Regions from separate parts of the Homo sapiens genome. Here regions 2 and 3 are each linked to region 1. Evidence: promoter capture Hi-C in human tissues and cell types (Jung and others, 2019). All regions are on one chromosome and are shown on one strand. Each heading gives the region's core, a stretch centred on a gene start or on the middle of the fragment in contact. The rest is flanking DNA. Distances are from core to core; before and after follow the strand shown.

Region 1 (3,860 bases), core at 732-3,231:
CTAGGACTACCAAGAGGCCAGGAAGTTGACTATAGAAATGGTAATGCATATGTCCCCAGTATGTTTGTTACGTGGTTTTGTAGACTCTGCAGTTCTTATGAAGCTGAGAAAGAAAAATAAATAAAGGAAGCTATGAGTGCTGTATCCTGAGAGTGGCTGGTCAGGAATCACCAGTGTCCAAAAGTTAGGAAATCAGAGTCCATCGAATATACCTGCTGTATCAAAATTGCTTTAGAAATACAGATTTGAGAGCTCTGTCTCTAGGATTTAGTTGAGTAGGCCAGGAGTGTGGGGCAGCCATATTGCTTTTTAACAAGCTTCCCACGTGATTTTAGGGAGTTGCTAATATGTTTGAGACCCACTTGCTGGAGCAGCTTTAGCCTCAGGACCATGGACAGCGCAGGTGCCCTCTTCCTCAGCAGGGGCTTCACTGGGTCTCTGGCACTTGGGTGCCCTGCCTCATCTATTGAGTCAGGCTCCCTTCCATCTCAGCCATGAGGCCTGTCTCTTCTCCAGAATCATCCAGCAGGCTCCCCTTCCCTCCTGCAGCATCCTGTGAGCATGACTAAGTGACAACATGGCAAGGCTTGGCCTCCTGCTCTGGGATTGGGCCTGGTTTCTTGGCTCTTGGCTCTCTGTGTCCTCTTCTTCTCTCTTTGGCTGTCATCAGCTCTGCCCCAGATTTTGGTGGTGGCTTTCATTGGATCAGGCAAACTCAAGGATGATTAGGGCTGCTGTTTCCTACTGTCATCTTCAGGGTCTTTTCCTATCTCTGTGCTGGCTGGGGCGGGTGAGCTGCTTGCTCTAGGGTGAGATTTCTGTGACCCACATAGGTTTAACCAGGGTGATTCTTCTGCCCCTCCTTCTATCCACCACAGTGCCCCAGGATCTGATGGACGTCTCTGTAAGCAACCTCCCATCCCTGTGGCAGCCCAGTCCCCGGAAGTCCTCCTGTTCATCCTGTTCACAGAGTGGCTCGGCTGATGGTAGCTCGACCAATGGCTGCAACCATGAGAGGTATGAGGGGCTTGAGCTGCAGATGGAGAGAGCTGAAGGATGTACCAGAGATCTGTAGATGCCCATGTCTTACCCTGCACTGAATTCAGAGTGAGCATAACCTGCGGACTCAGGCAGATATAGGTTAAATCCTGGCCATGAAATCCTAGCTGTTAGAGGTTACATGTAATAGTCAGGATAAACAAGGTTATGCTGCAGTAACAAACAGTCCTAAAACCTCAGTGGCTTTTTTACAACAAAAGTTTATTTATCATGCATGCTGTGTTTCTATCATGGGTCAGCTGGTGGCTGTTTTTTCCACACTAAAGGGCCTGGGTGATGGAGCAGCTACCATCTTGAATGTTGCCAGTTACAATGACAGGGAAAGGTAGCTCTGCAGAGGTTGGAACCTACGATAAAAAGGCTCTGCCCAAAAGCAGCACATGTCATATCCACTCACAGCCCATTGGCCCCATCCACAAGGGGACAGTAAGTGCAGCCCTACCATACACCTAGAAGGCAAAATAATCCCAGAAATATTATTTAACAACAACCACATCTCAGTTTGCACCCCCACACAGTGGAAATTCCAGTTCTTAACTTTATATGGCTGTGGTAAGGACCAGCTCAGGTAATGGTTTAAAGTGGCCAGAATGTGGCACCTGCACATGGTACTGTTCAGTAAATGACACTTAATGTTTTATTATATAAAGTTAAATCTCAAGCTCATCTTCTGTTTGCCCATAGATCCTTTGTCTCTTTGAAACTCTTCAGCCAATTCATGAGACTGATCTTGTTTTCCCCTGGTCCAACCTGGCCTGGCCTGAGAAAATAGAACCCTTTTGTCCTTGCGGGGCTTCTGTCCTAGTGGGTGGTCCAGTCATCAGCCATAGGATATAAGGGGTGGGGGCTGGCATCAAATTTTTGGAGTCATCCAATCCCCTGGTTCCTCAGGGTGTGGTCCGTGAACCAGCATCAGCACCTGGGCAAATTCTGAGTCTCTCATCCCAAACTTCCTGAATCAGAACCTGTATTTAACGTGGTTTCAAGACCATGTGTATACTTTAAAGTTTGAGAAGTGCTAATATTACTGGAGATTCTTTCTTTCTTTTTTTTTTTTTTTTTTTTTTTTTTGAGACTGAGTCTCTTTCTGTCGCCCAGGCTGGAGTGCAATGGCATGATCTTGGCTCACTTCAACCTCCGCCTCCCGGGTTTAAGCAATTCTCCTGCCTCAGCCTCCCGAGTAGCTGGGACTACAGGCATGTGCCACCATTCCTGGCTAGTTTTTGTGTTTTTAGTAGAGATGGGGTTTCACTATGTTGGCCAGTCTGCTCTCGAACCCCTGACCTCAAGTGATCCGCCCACCTTGGCCTCCCAAAGTGCTGGGATTACAGGCATGAGCCACCGCGCCCCGCCTGGAGATTCTCTTATCATGCATTAGAATCACCTGGGCTAGGTGGCAAAACATATCAGTTCCTGGACTATTTCCTAGAGGTCCTGACTGAGTAGGTATGTGCAGGACCCAGGAATCCACATGTTGGAGAAATTCCAAGTAACTCTTGGGCTGATGGTCCGTGGACCAGTGAGAAAGGCTGCTATAACCCATTGCCCCCTCTCCTGTTGTAGCATCTGCTTACACACTTGGAGTGATGGAGAGCTCACTACTTTGCAGAAAGCGAAGTCTACAGCGGGAAAGCTGTTGATGTGATCCTATTCTGATGTAATCTGAGCAAGTCTGAGCCTCATCAACCTGAGGGCACAAAGGGGAACTCTTTACTGTTTAATGTTCCTAACTGTCTCAATGTGCCTAAGTGGAGGACTTCAGCTATGCTCCTTCTGCCCTGCCCCAGTCTACCTGTTTTTCTGGATGTCTCCTGGGATGTCCTGAGAACAAATATGCAGATATTCTTCCATTCTATCCTCTATGAGAGTGTACAACACTCCCTTCAGCAGTCCTGGATTTCTCCAACAATGCTAGAATCTGACTCCTCTCACCTCTTTCAGCCGAAAAAGTTCCCAAAAATTCCCATGCAAGGAGAAGCTTTGAGGCATCACCTACTTAGCAATCAGCCAGACTCTGAATCCCACTTTGGCTCAGCTTGGTTCAGCTGGATCACTTTACAAATCAGAACTCTTTCTGCAAGTGATAGAAACCCACTTCAAACTGGTTCAAGTACAAAAGGAAATTTGTTGGTGTAACTGAGAAGCTTAGAGGCACAGTGGCTTCAGGCATGGCTGGATACAGATGATCGAAATAGGAATCTCTGTTTCTTCAGCTCTTGGCTCTGCTTGCTTCTATGATGGTTCCATCCTCAGACAGGTGCTTCCTATGCAGTGGCAAAGATGGCTCCCAGCAGCCACTGCCCTATATCCCACTGGCTTAGAAACCCATTCAGAAAAGTGTCTGTTACCTAGTAATTCCAACAAAAGTCCCAGGGCTAATTCTCATTGGCTCAGGTTGGGTCACATGACCATCTCTGCCCCAATCACTGTGACTCCAACCTGAGTCCTGTAGTGGGCAGAGTCATCCACATACAAACCACACAGACAGTTGTGGAGAGCGTGATTTCTCAAGGGAAAATCAGGGGGCCGGTACCAGAAGAGGCAATGATGCTGTACAGGTAGAGGTAATAGCAGCCCTCCCTACAGTCTCCCTGACTGGCTGATATTAATCTGCCCTCTAGAGATAGCACGTGGTTATCCTCTCCAGAAAATCTGGGCTGTGTTTGGATCTATTCTAAGCATCTCCCTCTTTCTCCACCTGCAGGGCTCCCCTGAAACTTCTCTGTGACAATATGAAGTACCAGATCCTCTCCAGAGCCTTCTATGGATGTACGTATAGGGCTCCATTGCCAGTGTGTCTC
Region 2 (3,860 bases), core at 725-3,224, 100 kb before region 1:
TGGACTAGAAGGAGAACTGAAGAAGTGTCACAATGACATCGGGAAGAGAAAGTTTTAAGGCTGGGGAAAAGGTTGGCAGAGAAGTCAGGAAGGAGGCCTGCATGTGCCGGGTGTCCCCTGTGGGGAGATCAGATGAGGTACCTTAACAGTTATCTGGACCTCAAGCCCCCATGTGCTAGCTGAGGGCGTCCTTCTCCCTCCCCAGGCCTCCCTGGGTGCTGGGTCTCTGGGTCCTATGGGCTCAGGGGCCCATCTTTTTCAAGTTCTGCTCCACGTGTCTGTGTCCAGCTGAGGGCACTGACCCCACTGCCCCAGTCCCCAGGGCTTAGATGCCAGGACAGTAGAAAGCTGTGTGCCAGGGCATAACCAAGGTGTCCTCCACTGCTCTGGGCCACACATTGGCAGCTGGGCCCTGTGTCCCTCTGACACCGGATCCTAGGGTTTCTGGCTCTGCCATCTCTGCTGTGATGCTCCATTCCAACCATGTGGCTCAGCAGGGAGGGCATTACACACTGTCCCTTCCCCCTTTTCCATACTCCTGCCTTCCTGCATGCCCTGCACAGGAACCCTCTTCCCTTCTCCTTTTGCCAAAAGAATTCAGAAGATACCAACTTTCTCCTCTTTTCCTGTCTGCAGTGGAGGTCCCGGCAGGACCCCCTCCTGAGCTGTGAGGGTTAAATGGGAGAAGGTGTATTGAGCTTGAAGCACTGGCAGGTCCCACAACGAATGCTCAAAAAATGGAAGCCTCTGCCACCATCTGCATCATCCCCATCAACCACAGGAGCAAAGAGCCCGCCTTTTCTGAGAAGAGCATTTACATATTGATAGAAATTCCGCGGTTTTATTTATCATCACGTCAGTTTTAAGGATGTAAGTAGGTACACATATACATATGTATCTAAAATATATTAAGTTTTTAAAAGTAGGTTATTAAAGGATATGTACAAGACACTCTAGATTTTTTTTTTTTTTTTTTTTTTTTGAGATGGGAGTCTCACTCACTCTGTTGCCCAGGCTGGAGTACAGTGGTGCGATCTTGGCTCACTGCAACCTCCGCCTCCCAGGTTCAAGCAATCCTCCTGCCTCAGCCTCCCAAGTAGCTGGGACTACAGGCACCCGCCACTGCGCCCAGTTAATTTTGGTATTTTTCGTAGAGACGGGGTTTCACCATCTTGGCCAGGCTGGTCTTGAACTCCTGACCTCATGGTCCAGCCGCCTCAGCCTCCCAAAGTGCTGGGATTACAGGCATGAGCCACTGTGGCTGACCAAGATGCTCTAGATTTTTAAAATAAATATACATACTCCACATGCTCAAATATAAGCTGAATCTGTAACCCAGCAGCTTAGCAGCCTAACCTCAAACCGCATTTTAAAACTTTTTTTCCTTTCCCCTTTCCTCTCTTCTGCTAATCTGAAGATGTAACTTAGACAAAGTATAGACGTGTTTCCTCTCCTCTTGAAATCCAGCCTTGGAATGTGCTGTGAACCTCCACCCCCTTTCTTTTCCTGTTCTATGCCCCCATGCCTTATGCACATTTATTTACCTAGTTGTTTGGTAAGCACACACCATACTCACTTATCTGGTCACATATTTCCTTAGAAGCTTCAGTAGTCAGATCCTGATACGAACCATGCACCTCCTCCAGCCATGATGACGCCGGCCACTTCCACAGATGGAAAAATAATTCAGGACAAGCCACTGGAGGGGGTCACACCACCTGACACCTCCCAGTCCCCCTGCCTCTTTTGCCTTCCAAATCCTCCCTTTAAAAACCGCTTTGGCCGGGCGCGGTGGCTCACGCCTGTAATCCCAGCACTTTGGCAGGCTGAGGCGGGTAGATCATGAGGTCAGGAGATGGAGACCATCCTGGCTAACACAGTGAAACCCTATCTCTACTAAAAATACAAAAAATTAGCCGGGCGTGGTGGCGGGCACCTGTAGTCCCAGCTACTCGGGAGGCTGAGGCAGCAAAATGGCGTGAACCCGGGAGGCGGAGCTTGCAGTGAGCCGAGATCACGCCACTGCACTCCAGCCCGGGTGAAAGAGTGAGACTCTGTCTCAAAAAATAAACAAATAAATAAATATCTTAAAAAATAAAATAAAATAAATAAAAACCCCTGCGTTCATCCGAGCGCAGTGGCTCACGTCTGTAATCGCAGCACTTTGGGAGGTCAAGGCCGGAGGATCACGAGGTCAGGAGATGGAGACCATCCTGACTAACGCGGGGAAACCCCGTCTCTACTAAAAATACAAAAAATCAGCTGGGCATGGTGGCATGTGCCTGTAGTCCCAGCAACTCGGGAGGCTGAGGCAGGAGAATCGCTTGAACTCAGAAGGCGGAGGTTGCAGTGAGCTGAGATTGCGCCACTGCACTCCAGCCAGATTGGGCGACAGAGCAAGACACCGTCGCAAAAAACAAACAAAAAAAACCCCTGCGTTCTTTCCTCACGTGGAAGAGTGGAATTGCTCTCTGCTCTTGCCCTTGCTAGCATAGATTATAAAATTCTTTCTTTTTAAATCACATGTCATTATCATTTTGACTTCTTTCTACAAGCAGTGAGCAGCTGGGCCCTTTTGCTGGTTACAACATGAGTGACTGGGGCAAATACATCAATCAAGGTTTATCAAGCCAGATTTAGGTTGTTTCTGGGAAAAACACGAGCCAAACATGCACCTGTGGCTATTTTTCTGAAAAGGTTTTTCAGGAGATTTCCTATTTTTTTTAAGAAACTTTATTTTATTTTATTTTATTTATATCTCTATGTATTTATTGAGATGGAGTCTCGTTCTGTCGTCCAGGCTAGAGTGCAGTGATGTGATCTCTGCTCACTGCAGCCTTCGCCTCCCGGGTTCAGGCGATTCTCCTGACTCAGCCTCCTGAGTAGCTGGGATTACAGGTGCATGCCACCACACCAGGCTAATTTTTGTATTTTCAGTAGAGACGGGGTTTCATGATATTGGCCAGGCTGATCTCAAACTTCTGACCTCAAGTGATCCACCCACCTTGGGATTACAGGCGTGAGCCACCATGCCCAGTCGGGGATCAGAGTTTTTAAAAATGATTTGGTGGGTATGGGCTCAGGAAGTAGGGAGTGCTTATTGGTCGGGTTGGAGATGGAATCATGGGGGTGGAAGTGAGTTCTTGCTGATTTCTCTTCCTGGATGAGATCGCAGGACTGGTTGAGCCAGATTATCAGTCTGGGTGGTGTCATCTGCTGCATCGGAATTCAGGGTATGCAAAATATCTCAAGCACTGATCTTAAGTTTTGCAACGGAGATTTTATTCCCAGAAGCAACTTGGGGAGGTTCAGACTCTTGCGGCCAGAAGCTGCATGGCCCCTAAGCCGTAATCTCTCATCTTGTAGCTAATTTGTTAGTCCTACAAAGGCAGGACAGTTCCCCACGCAAGAAGCGTCTTTTTTTCAGGAAAGGACTATTATCAGTTTTGTTTCAGAATTTAAACTATAAACAATTCTTCCCCAAGACTAGTTTGGCCTATGCCCAGGAATGAACAAAGACAGCTTAGGCGTTAGAAGCAAGGTGTGGTCGGTTAGGTCTGATCTGTTTCACTGTCATAATTTTCTCAGTTATGAGTTTTGCAAAGGCCCTTTCAATGGGGTGACTATAGTAAGTTAATTTTCCTCCTCTTTCTTCTGGTTTACCCAAGGGCATGTGGAGTCATAGAACTGTCCAGCAGGCACTGAAAGTAAAAAGTCTGTGATAAACCACCTAAATTTCTAGCTAGGCTAGTGGGAAAGGGGTCTCCTGCACATCAAGGAGTAAGGGGATCATCCTTGGTTTGTTTTGTTTTTATCTCCCCAGTTGCAAAGCTGTCCTGCAGCCTCAGCAATGGCAGAGG
Region 3 (3,860 bases), core at 950-3,449, 75 kb after region 1:
CACCTCTGGAATCCCCTTAAAGCTTGACAGGGATAGAAGAGCTGACACCCGGTCTGGGCTGGGCATCTCTTGGGGCAGAGAGTAGGGTTGATGGTCAGGGCTGGGGACGTGTCTGGGTTTGAGTCTCCATGGGGGGTGGCAGGAGGAGGACTATCTTGTCCCCTCCCATCCTTATGTTCTGGAATGGAGAGGCGATGCCAAGGTGGAAGCCTGCATTGGCTGGGGAGCTGAGAAACATGGAACATTCCATTGAACAGAACCCCCAGCCTACGCATTCTGGTTCATGGAGATTTGCCCAGGAGAGACAGGAAGTTCCCATAAGGTTAGGGAGGAGGGGCAGCAGATGGCATGTCATCAGCTGTTGGTCATTCATGCACTCAGCATACATTCTTTGAGCACCTATTGTGTGCCAAGCCCTGTTCTAGGCACTGGGAATCGGAGGTGAAAGACAGACAGAAGTCCCTTCCTCCAGGAGGTCTAGAGAGAAGAGCAGACAATCAACGATTTTCCTTTGCTGGTATAACATACACGTCATGTAAAGGCCTGACTTACGTGGATTTTGAAGGATTTTAAGTTTCAACCCAGCCGTTCCTGGTCTCCTACTCACAGACTTCTCTCTGGAAGTGGTAGTTGTCTGTAAAAGCAACTGGGTTTGATCCTTTTGATGACTGTACTCAAGATACCCAGATGATAAGGAGAATGTCTTGAGACATGAGACCTCATGGGACCTCTGCCCCCCAATTCCTGGGTTCCAGCACTGTACACAAGTCAGTTGGGGGTTCTCGGGCTGCTGTTTGGTAAACAGGGTTTACCCTGCCTGGGTCTGATGGTGATGATCAGACCTTCAAAAGGGTTGCAGTGCAAACGGTGTGGAGAACAGGAGCTACCCTTGTTTCTTACACACACCCAACAATTTAAGAGCAAAATGAGGCAAGAAGTCTCCCCACCAATCCTCCTGAAGCCACACAATGTGATGTCTTTTTCTTTTTTTTTTTTTTGAGATGGAGTCTTGCTCTGTCGTCCAGGCTGGAGTGCAGTGGCGCGCTCTTGGCTCACTGCAATCTCCACCTCCCGGGTTCAAGCCATTCTCCTGCCTTAGCCTCCCGAGTAGCTGGGATCACAGGCATCCGCCACCACGCCCAGCTAATTTTTGTAATTTTTAGTAGTGACGAGGTTTCACCACGTTGGCCAGGCTGGTCTCAAACTCATGACCTCAGGTGATCCACCCGCCTCGGCCTCCCAAAATGCTGGGATTACAAGCCACCGTGCGCAGCCTGTGATGTCCTTTTCTTTCTCTTTTTTTATTGAGGTCTATCTTGCTTATAATAAAGGCACATTGATTTTAGGTCCTCCAGTTATTCATGCTCTGTACATTTCCCATAGGAGCACATGTCACAGATTCAATTTGATATACTCGTGAAATTATTTGTTTGAATATCTGTAAGCTGCACAACAGCCTGGATTTTGCCAGCTGCCCACCACTGGGTTCTCCAGCACCCAGCATGCAATAGGTGCTTAATAAAGATCTGCTGAATGAAATGAGTAACGGATAACAGAACAGGTATTTTCTCTTTCAGAGGCGACTTCCTACGATTCTCTCAACTTGTCCACAAGTTCCTGTACCCATTACCCCACAACTCACACCCACAACATAATGGCAGGAGGATGCGCACACAGTAGGCGCTCCAGCGAACTCTCAGGTGCAGTGCCCTTGCTTGGCGCGAGGAGGCGCCAGCACCGCGCACAGACCTTGCCCGCCCCCGGGCCGGCACCAGCAGCCCAGGCAAGTCAGTGGGCCCACATTTATGGAGCGCCTCCTGAAATCCTGGGTTGCATTAGGCTCTCGGGGTCGCCGGCTGGGCAGCGGGTCGGTGCCGGTGGCGGGGGATCCTGGCTGGTGACTGGGGAACATCCAGGGAACGCGGGAGGGTACCCGGAGCAAAGTTCCCAATTGGACAGAGCGGGGTCGGGCCTCGAGGGGCGGGAGCGCTTCCGGCAGGGGTGTCCAAGCGAGTCGTGACCTCTGACCCGCCGGAGAGGTCCCAGGCCCAGGCGCCACTGCGGACTCGGGTCCTGCCTGCTCTGCTCCCCTCCGCGCAGGCGCGGCCGGCGGCAGTTCCCATGGTGACGGGGGCGCGTCCCCGCTCGAGGCCCCGCCCCCAGCAGGCTAGGCTGCGCGGGGCTGCGGGCTCCCAGGGCAGGTGCCGCGGGCTGCGGGCAGGTGGCGGCGCGGCGCGGGCTGGCGGTGGCTCCACGGTAGGTTGCGCAGCGGCTGCGGGCAGTGGGGGCCGGCTGGCCGCCTCCTGTCCCCGGCCGACGAGGTAGCTGGGGGTGACGGCGGCTGGCGAGGGCCGCCAAGTTTCTGCCCGGCCGAGGCCCCGGGAGAAAAGTTGGCAAAGTTGGCCGGGGAAGAGGCGGGGAGCCGGAGGATTTCCCCAGACTCCGGGTCTGCAGGGAGGGAGGATCCCGGTTTGGGAGCCGGGGAATCCGTCTCCCGAGACTTGAGAGTGGATCCCGCGGGAAGATCCCGCACAGGGCAACCAATGGATCACGTGCCACCTGGTTGGCGACTTGGGAGTCGATCCCTGGAGGGGATCGGGCGCTGGAGGCCTGGGGTCCCACTGGATCCCCAGTCAGGGGTGACGGCGAAGGGTGATTCGAGACTGGGAGCGAGAGGATCAATCTCCTCCCATGCCAGCCTGAGCCTTGGGAATGGATTCAGAGAGATCCCGTGGCTAGGAGCTGAGGGATCGCTGGAGATCTGGGTTACTCAGCCTGGAGCTGCTAGGGTCTGGACATTTGTGCGGGTTGGAGGCCCCGGAGGTGGAAGTGGGAAGCAAGGGCGGCGAGCGAGACGGAACCCTGGTCGAGGGGAGCCCGGAGGACAGCGCGGTGGTTCGGGGGGCGTGAGAGGGGCGGCGCGCGGGGCCCCTCGGACGCGGAGGCTCCGGACACGTCCTCTCGGCCTGGCCTGCGCCCCCCCTCCGCTCGTCTTCCCAGGGCGGAGGCGCCCTGATGGGATTAAGCCTCAGTCCCCCTGTTACCAGGCAGGCCCGCGTGGTCCCCGCCCCGATGGCGGCGCGGCCCACCCGGGCTCACGGGTGGGGCCCTCGGGATGGGAAGCGGCTCGTTGACCCCCACCCGAGCCTGACCTTTTCACACCCTGCTGGCACAAACTCGCCTGGGAGTGGGGACGCCGCGCCTTAAAACCCTGCTGTTTGTCCAGTCCCGGAGCAGGCGTGTGACCTCCACCGCGCGACGCCTAGGTGGCTAGGGCTTCCTGCCTGCCGGGACTGAACTTTCTCTAGCCAGGAGCAGCCATTATCTTTTGGAAGGGAAAGGACTGTACCTGTTGCACAAAGAAAAACACTTTCTTTGCACCTTTTTTGTGACCTTGGGCAAAACACTTAACCTATCTGAATCCAGATGGGGACCCTCTGGGCAAAATGGGCTTGGCCTAGGATGGATCGGAATGAAGGGTATGAAACAGGTAGGGGCTCTATAAGTATCAGTGCCTCCCTCAGTCTATGGCCTCTCCTTTCCCGTGCCCCATCCCCTGTGCTTGCCTTACAGTATCTAAAGATTCCAGAAACCCTACTTGCTATCTTTTGAAACCGCAGGATTAGAGAGCTATTTAGCTTAACCTTTCTTCCAAATGGGTTAATTGCCCCTCTGATCCCCCCTTGCAGAGAGAAGCTCTGAGGTTTGGCTAATGAGTAACCAAGACATTTGGACAAAGCTTCTCCCTTGGTCTGGCTTTCCCTCTGCTAATCCATCAAGGTTCCTGGACAAACGTGTGCACCCCCAGACTCTGGCGCCTCCTTCCTTCCTGTTGCAGCCAGGGACAGTTCCCGAGGAAT

What was found. The method cuts DNA at HindIII sites, captures the fragments that hold promoters and counts their contacts. A contact is called where the count stands out against the background at its distance.
Region 2: a contact is called between the fragment with the promoter of PIWIL3 here and a fragment that was not itself captured in region 1, in 3 of the 25 tissues and cell types used here (H1 embryonic stem cells, adrenal gland and small bowel).
Region 3: the fragment with the promoter of KIAA1671 here is called in contact with a fragment that was not itself captured in region 1 in 2 of the 25 tissues and cell types used here (adrenal gland and thymus).

Annotation. Positions count from the first base shown.
Region 1 is chr22:24,875,699-24,879,558 of GRCh38, forward strand. SGSM1 (small G protein signaling modulator 1) reads left to right here. Exons shown (of 25, transcript NM_001098497.3): 13 at 879-1,017; 14 at 3,764-3,828. Among named protein-coding and RNA genes, the nearest start is that of LHFPL7, 69 kb to the right of the region's middle. RefSeq lists a silencer at 311-511. The HindIII fragment of the contact is 3,659 bases long and covers 153-3,811 here.
Region 2 is chr22:24,772,746-24,776,605 of GRCh38, forward strand. It overlaps PIWIL3 (piwi like RNA-mediated gene silencing 3), which reads right to left and starts at 1,975. Exons shown (of 21, transcript NM_001255975.1): 1 at 1,577-1,975. The HindIII fragment of the contact is 9,839 bases long and covers 1-3,860 here.
Region 3 is chr22:24,950,517-24,954,376 of GRCh38, forward strand. It overlaps KIAA1671, which reads left to right and starts at 2,200. Exons shown (of 13, transcript NM_001145206.2): 1 at 2,200-2,256. RefSeq lists a silencer at 2,017-2,266. The HindIII fragment of the contact is 5,810 bases long and covers 1-3,860 here.